Linked DNA regions of Homo sapiens: region 2 is linked to region 1. The links are contacts of gene promoters, found by promoter capture Hi-C in human tissues and cell types (Jung and others, 2019). All regions are on one chromosome and are shown on one strand. Each heading gives the region's core, a stretch centred on a gene start or on the middle of the fragment in contact. The rest is flanking DNA. Distances are from core to core; before and after follow the strand shown.

What was found. The method cuts DNA at HindIII sites, captures the fragments that hold promoters and counts their contacts. A contact is called where the count stands out against the background at its distance.
Region 2: a contact is called between a fragment that was not itself captured here and the fragment with the promoter of STXBP6 in region 1, in 7 of the 25 tissues and cell types used here (H1 embryonic stem cells, IMR-90 fibroblasts, dorsolateral prefrontal cortex and 4 more).

What each region holds. Positions count from the first base shown.
Region 1 is chr14:25,048,816-25,052,141 of GRCh38, forward strand. It overlaps STXBP6 (syntaxin binding protein 6), which reads right to left and starts at 1,332. Exons shown (of 6, transcript NM_001394410.1): 1 at 1,063-1,332. It overlaps LOC124903295 (a long non-coding RNA gene), which reads left to right and starts at 1,529. Exons shown (of 2, transcript XR_007064091.1): 1 at 1,529-1,619. The HindIII fragment of the contact is 10,437 bases long and covers 1-3,326 here.
Region 2 is chr14:24,971,641-24,975,224 of GRCh38, forward strand. STXBP6 (syntaxin binding protein 6) reads right to left here. Exons shown (of 6, transcript NM_001394410.1): 2 at 3,025-3,210. The coding sequence starts at 3,178. Among named protein-coding and RNA genes, the nearest start is that of STXBP6, 77 kb to the right of the region's middle. The HindIII fragment of the contact is 4,072 bases long and covers 18-3,584 here.

The DNA of each region.
Region 1 (3,326 bases), core at 82-2,581:
AGTGAAAAAAGTGGAGCCAGGAAAAATTCGTCGGCATCCTCCACAGCCTTACAATCCGCACAATGCCAGTTCCAGGGTCCTGGGGTCGCCCGGAAGGCAATCTTAGGAGAGGGTGGAATGAGATGGAAGTTCCTGCGGACCTACCGATCCTATTCTCTCCCACCCAGTCCCTAGGGAAGCGTAATAGGAAGGGGAGAAGGTTCGTTATGAAATCCTGGGGCCAGAACCAAGGGCAGATACACCCCGGGGACTTTCTCCTAAAGAACAAGATGTCTTTCCAAATTCTCCACCTGCAGGTCCTGTCCTCTGTGAAGATGAACGGGGTGGGGTGGTGAGGTGGCGGGGTGTTGTAAACCTGAGGAAAGGTTGGAGGGAAAATCAAGCCACCCACCTACTCCAGCCACGTTGCCCGGCGGTGTTGGTGAGGCTCGATGCCGGCGTGCACGGCAAGCGCGAATTCGGAACCTGGCGCCCTTGACCAAGCCTGAGATCGGAAAGGGGGCATCGCCCAGGGCCAGCGCCCTGGGGGCAGGGTGCCGTGCCCGCCAGAAAAGCTCGCCTCAGTTTTGGCAGTAATGATTTTCCTAGAAGATGCCAGAGTTCGCGAAGATCGGAGTGATTCGCGGATTTCTGCGCTCAAGCTAGAGGCGCAGCGACCCCGAGCTCCCCCACACTGGGAGCCTCGGGGCAGCATTCTCGGGGCCCATGCCATCGCGGGGACGGTGCGGAAAAAAAGGCTCCATCCTCAACTTTCTCGGAGGAAATCGCTCCGTTCTGCGGCTTGCCCAATACTGCCCGCACAACGGGTCCCAGGGTTGGAGAGAACCAGGGACACGAGTCCCTCTCTGCGCGCACAAAGCAGCTGCGCCGGGGCGCGCGGCCCCCTCTCCCGCCACCCGCCAACTTGGAAGAATCTCTCTGGGAGCCTGCCTACTCCCCTGGCCTCACAGCCACCCGCCTCGGACGGAGCGCCAGGCGCCCCAACAGCCGTGGCGGCTGCAACCGCATCTCCCGGGCTTGGCCTCCGCCCTGACCGCCTGGCTCCCCTCGCCCCGGTCCTACCGTGCAGCCTGGCTCGCGCCCCTGCCGTGCCAGTGCGCGGCACGCGTCCCAGAGCACGAGGCTCCTCCCCGGGGGGCTGCCCCGCGCGGGGCTCCGGGCTCCGGACAAGGCTTAGCCGGCCCGGGTGCTGGCTCGCCGCCGCTCGCGGCTCCCGCGCCGGCTCCTGCTGCCGCGCGCGAAAAGGGAGGGGTTGGGGGGAAACTCCCGGCAACTCCAACTCCGGGCGCTGGAGCTCCAGCTGCAGCCGCGCGCCCGCCCGCCGCCGAGTGCGAGCGCCTGCGAAGCAAACCTGCCCGCGCGGCCGCCTCTGAGCATGCTCAGTGCCGCCGTGGGCGAGCCCGAGCGCCCTGGCCCGGGGCAAAGAGCAGCGGCTAGGGGCTGGGGGCTGGGGGCCGGGACCCGCGACCCGCCCCAGGCCTCGGAGCGCGGAGGTGGCAGAGGAAGGGAAAGGCCAATGTAGGGGCGGGGGCCCTGAGCCAAAGACCCGGGAGAAACCGATCTGGGTGCAAGAGCCGGTGCGACTTTCACGGCTTGTGGGAAGTTTGTGGGCTAGAAAGGTGGGCTGCTTCTGTGAGCTTCTCTGTGAGACTATATTCGAAAGGACAACCAGGAAACATTTTTTTTTTTCTCTAGGAAAAAACGAATAGACCCAGCCGATGGGTTTTTATCCTGTGCGCTCCTTCCTTTATTCTTACGATAGCAAACTCAAAGATCTAATGGGGCCTGACAGGCACTGTAACTGGGGGAAGGCGAACTGGAGAGAGCTCCGAAGGCAGGGCCGCTTATCTGCTCTCAGGGTCCCTTGCTATCGGGCAAGAATTAGACCTAGTGTTGCTAGATTTTCTGATTTTTCCAGAAATGACGGAGTATATTCATGTACAATATCCTGATTTGTAAAATCTTGATAACAAATTCAATTTTCTCAAAACACCCTGGACTAAACAAAACATATCTGCGTCCCCTCCCTGCTGAACCCCCCAGACAGTGATTTGAGCATTGTGATTCTGCACTCTTTTAGCGAAGTGGTGCTGAGTGCTCACTGTGGTTTGGGAAAGTGCTGGAAAGGATCCAAGATGATTCAGAATATCTTCGAAGTACTACTAGTTACTAGGGGAAATGGGTTTTCCTGACAGTAGAGCGCTACACTTAAATGCTGGAGCGTTCAAGAAGAAAGACGTTACTAATGTAGAAAGCGGTTGTAAGAACTAACTTTTGGGAAACATCATTAGTAAAAGTATCTGTGTGGGGAGTCACTGCAGGGCCGATAACAGTGCCCCGGAAGGCACTTTTGAGCCTGAAGCAATAGGAAAAACCCCTAAACTTACCCTGTCTTTATTTAAAATTTTGTTATTTTTCATCATGCATTTTTGATATTAATTTTGATTTTTTTAAATATTCCATTAAAATATTAACCTTGATTACTGAATTCTTTGGTGAACCTTTAAGTGCTGTGACTCACCTCACCCTAGCCTGGCCCTGTTGGGGTGTTAGATGGTGGTACACAGACCTGCTTGTTTGGAGTGCAAGGGGTAAGCATTAGCATAGTGAAATAGGAAAGAGGGTTTGAGCTGTGGATGGGGGCTCAGGCAGAAGTCCTGACTGTCAGTCTGTGGCTCCTGCACTTAGTTTGTAGACTACGTGGAGATAGCAGAGATGCTGGGGGAGGAGACAATCCGAACTGAATTCTGTGAAGATGGACAGGGCAGCAGACCCAGGAAGATGGTTTGGAGGGGAAGAATGGGAGAAACGGGGATACCTAGGATATCATAAAACTGATACCCTAGGTATCCCCATTTGGTAGCTACAGTTTTATGAAAATCAGAGAAAATTGCCTGAAAAAGTAAGTTTCTTTTGCTCTGCCTATCTCTGTAGAGACATGTCATGGGGCTACCTTAGTGCCAATGAGTAGTGTGCCGGGGTCCTGGTCTTAACCTCAGCCATTTCCCTACCAGGCTTCCATGGGCAAGTGGCTCAACCTCTAAGCTTCACTTTCCTCATCTGTGGAAGGGAAAACAATTCTCATGGCGTTTTTGTGAGAATCCAAAGAAATGTATGTCTAAGGGCTTTGAAAATGTTGAGAGTTCTTACCTACAAGTCATCTATGTAAAATTTGAATTGAAATAAGGGCCTTTTTGCTTGACAAAAGCTCTAAGTAGCAAGCTTCTTTAATTTAGCAAGCCTTTCTAATGTGTTGGGATGATATTTACAAAACTTTGGAATCAGCTTTTGGGTAACTCAATAATTTTGTGAAGTAAGATACTACT
Region 2 (3,584 bases), core at 804-3,303, 76 kb before region 1:
AACCTGCCATTCCCTCTGCCTGGAATGCCCTCTCACCCACACAATCCTCTTTTCAAAACCAGTGAAGCCCTACTTTTCTCAAAACTCTTGGTTCTCCAAACCAGGCCAAATTCTCTGCATACATGCTTTCACATCATTGTATTTTTTTTAATCTTTCACAGTTTATAACTATGTTTATTTTAGTGATGGATTAATGTCTATTGCTACTTGCCCACCAAATTAGGTAAGATGCATGAATTCTTTTCATAGCGGTACCCACGGAACATAGAATGCTTGGCACAGAAAAATTCTTAATAAATATTTGACTAATTAATTGCTAATTAAAACATTACCTTATCAGGGATGTAACTGATATGCCTCTAAGCTTTGCACAAGTTAAAAAATAAGGGTGGCTGCTTCTTTGTCACTTACAAGAAACATCAAACTGCAAAAATCTTGGGTGTCAAAGTTGCCTGCCCTTCTCCTGCCCCCATTTCCACTACACTGTCTGCTTAAATGTCAGATCTACTTTATCAATCTATCCTCTCAAGATTCAAAACCATGAAAAGACTGAAGAACAAAAGATTTTCCTCCATTAGAATGCAACAAAAAAGCAATTGTCATAGTTTTGGACTTTAAACCTGAAGGTCTTGGTAATTTGCAAAGGAAATACAGTTATTCCGTAAGTCCCAGGTCATTATCTTCTATGGCAGGGGAAATGAAATGGTTATGCTATTTCACTGAGATGAGGCTGTTAGAGTCCCTATATCACTCTTGCAGGCTTCATGATCAAAATTAGGCAGACAACAGTATATGCCTAAAATGCAAACAACTATTCTTCAATTATACATAGGTACTAGGCAAAATTCAAGTAGCTTCTAGACCGTCTACCTTTCTTTCAACTACTCATCTATAAGAAATGTCAATGAAATATTGAGAAAATAGAGCTTAACAAAATTAGAATCACTAGGTATCCATACTAGGCCGATGTTCAGCTCAGCTCAAATGCAAATCAGTCTTTATTTAAGTGTATTCTATTCATTGTTTGCGTAAGCAGAACTGTGGAATCTAAATTTAAGAATATGAAAATATTTTTAAGACCTGGGCTGGGTGTGATAGCTCATGCCTGTAATCCCAGCACTTTTGGAGGCCAAGGGGAAATGACTGTTTGAAGACCAGCCTGGGCAACATAACAAGACCCCATTGCTACAAAAACTACAAAAATGGTGGTTTATCCCTGTAATCCCAGCACTTTGGGAGACCTAAGTAGGAGGATTGCTTGAGCCCAGGAGTTCGAGACCAGCCTAGGCAACAGAGTGAGAACTCATCTTTACAAAAAAATACAAACATCAGCTGGGCATGGTGTTGTGTGCCTGCAGTCCCAGCTCTTGGGAGGCTGAGGCAGGAGGATCGATTGAACCCAAGGAGGTCAAGGCTACAGTGAGCCATGGTTGTGCTACTACACTCCAGCCTGGGCAACAGAGTGAGACCCTGTCTCAAAACAAAACAAAACACACTTGAATTTCATTAACAAAATTCTAGGAAAGTATTAGGTGAGGCTACTTCTTTCTTCCACTTAGTCACTAGATATTAATTGAGGCCCTAGAATATGCCCGGCACTGCTTAGCGCACTAAAGAAATACAAATATCTTCTGACAATAACCCAATTTTTTTATTAACCTAATCCTTATTTGGAATAAACAGAAACCAATGTTTCAAGGTCAATTCTCTCACACTTATTTAAATAAAAGCTTTCTTCCTTTTTTTTTTTTTTTTTTTTTTTTGAGACAGAGTCTCACTCTGTCAGCCAGGCTGGAGTGCAGTGGTGTGATCTCGGCTCACTGCAACCTCTGCCTCCTGGGTTCAAGCAATTCTCCTGTCTCAGCCGCCTGAGTAGCTGGGAGTACAGGTGAGTGCCATCATGCCTGGCTAATTTTTTTATTTTTAATAGAGACAGGGTTTCACTATGTTGGCCAGGCTGGTCTTGAACTCCTGACCTCAGATGATCCTCCTGCCTTGGCCTCCCAAAGTGCTGAGCATTATAGGCATGAGCCACCGCGCCTGGCCCTTTGAAAAATAATTCTTACCAAAGTGCTATGTTCTTACTTCATTTTAATCTAAGACACAGTCTTAGAAATTTACATGTTCTTTCTGGTAAAAAGTTACTTTTACCCTAAAATAAATTCTGATAAATGATCAAAGGTTTAATTTTTTAAAAAGCTAGAAATGGGTCCAAAAACATAAAGTTTTATTCCCAAAACTACAATTGAAGGAAAGTTTTTAAAAAGATAAACTAAAATAAGCTTAAATCTTCCATCACTCCATACAAGAAATATTATCAGAAATATCACAAATGCTCCATGTGTTTAGATTAGCATCACCAATAACTCCATGAAAAATTTATCCAGATTTTATCTCAAAAATCTTAATACGAATCCATTGTAAATCCCACAGATCTCCTACAATCACAAACAGAAAGAGAAAGAAAAAAAAAAAACAAGATTCAAAGCTTAATAAAACAGATGCCTCTTCTTGACAAGGCAATGGCTGTCAGGCAAAGCAACGACTTGTGAACTGAATCAACCTCCTCACATTCCATAAGGTGCCAATATTTATCTTAAGACAAGTGATTACTGATTATTGGCAACTGTCTAGAAAAACAAAGCCAATGAAAGTCAGGCTGTGAGTAATGACAATTATTCAGATACCAGCAACTGTTCTAAAACGAGAATTCCAGAGGATAGCCCATTCTCTGTCAGTGTCCCCGTGAGGGCAAGTATGGACAAACAAGTCTGCGAAACATTTTACGAAAGCTCTTAATGAACTGGAAAATACACCCGAATTGAACTTCACTACCTTTCCAATACGCGGCAACCTCAAAAACAAGGTGTCACCAGTAAAGAGGAAGACCAGAAAAACGGGGAAAAGGAGCAAGACAGTGCAGACACCTACAAAACCTGTGAATGTAAACCTCCTGGATACCTCAGAATGAACTGTTTTAAAATGGAAGTTATTTTAATAATATTAATATCTGGTTCTCATTACCTGACAGGCAGATATAAGTTAAATATTCGCCTTGACCTCCAGTTGCCAAGAAAGGAATCTTTTTCTTTGTCCTCCTCTTGACTTGGACAGCTCCCAGCATCCTTTCATCAAGAGGTGCAAAAATTTCCTTGCTGATAGCAGATTTGGCACTCATTGTAGAACAAGTGAGGACAGCACGCAGTGAATCTTTTAAAGAAGGAAAAGAAAGGAAAGTTGGAATTGACAACATTGTAAGGGTTCATACAATAATCAGCAGCAAGTGAATTTGCAGGTGAAGTAATTTTCAATTTACAGTTTAATCTCATAATTGCTTGAAATGTATTATAGAAACATTAAAAGCAAGGTCTTCATATTTGTAATAACTATGAAAAAATAAAGACAAAAAGGGGGTACTTATTTACTTCCCAAAAATGTCAAACACAATATGAGATGAGTAGTACAAACTGGGATCTGGAAAGTTTGTTAATTACTACCCCAACTGCACCTCCCTCTAACTGGCAAGCAGTACCCACTCTATTCCTGTTCTGTAAGAAACATATTTCACACTTCCAGAATACAAG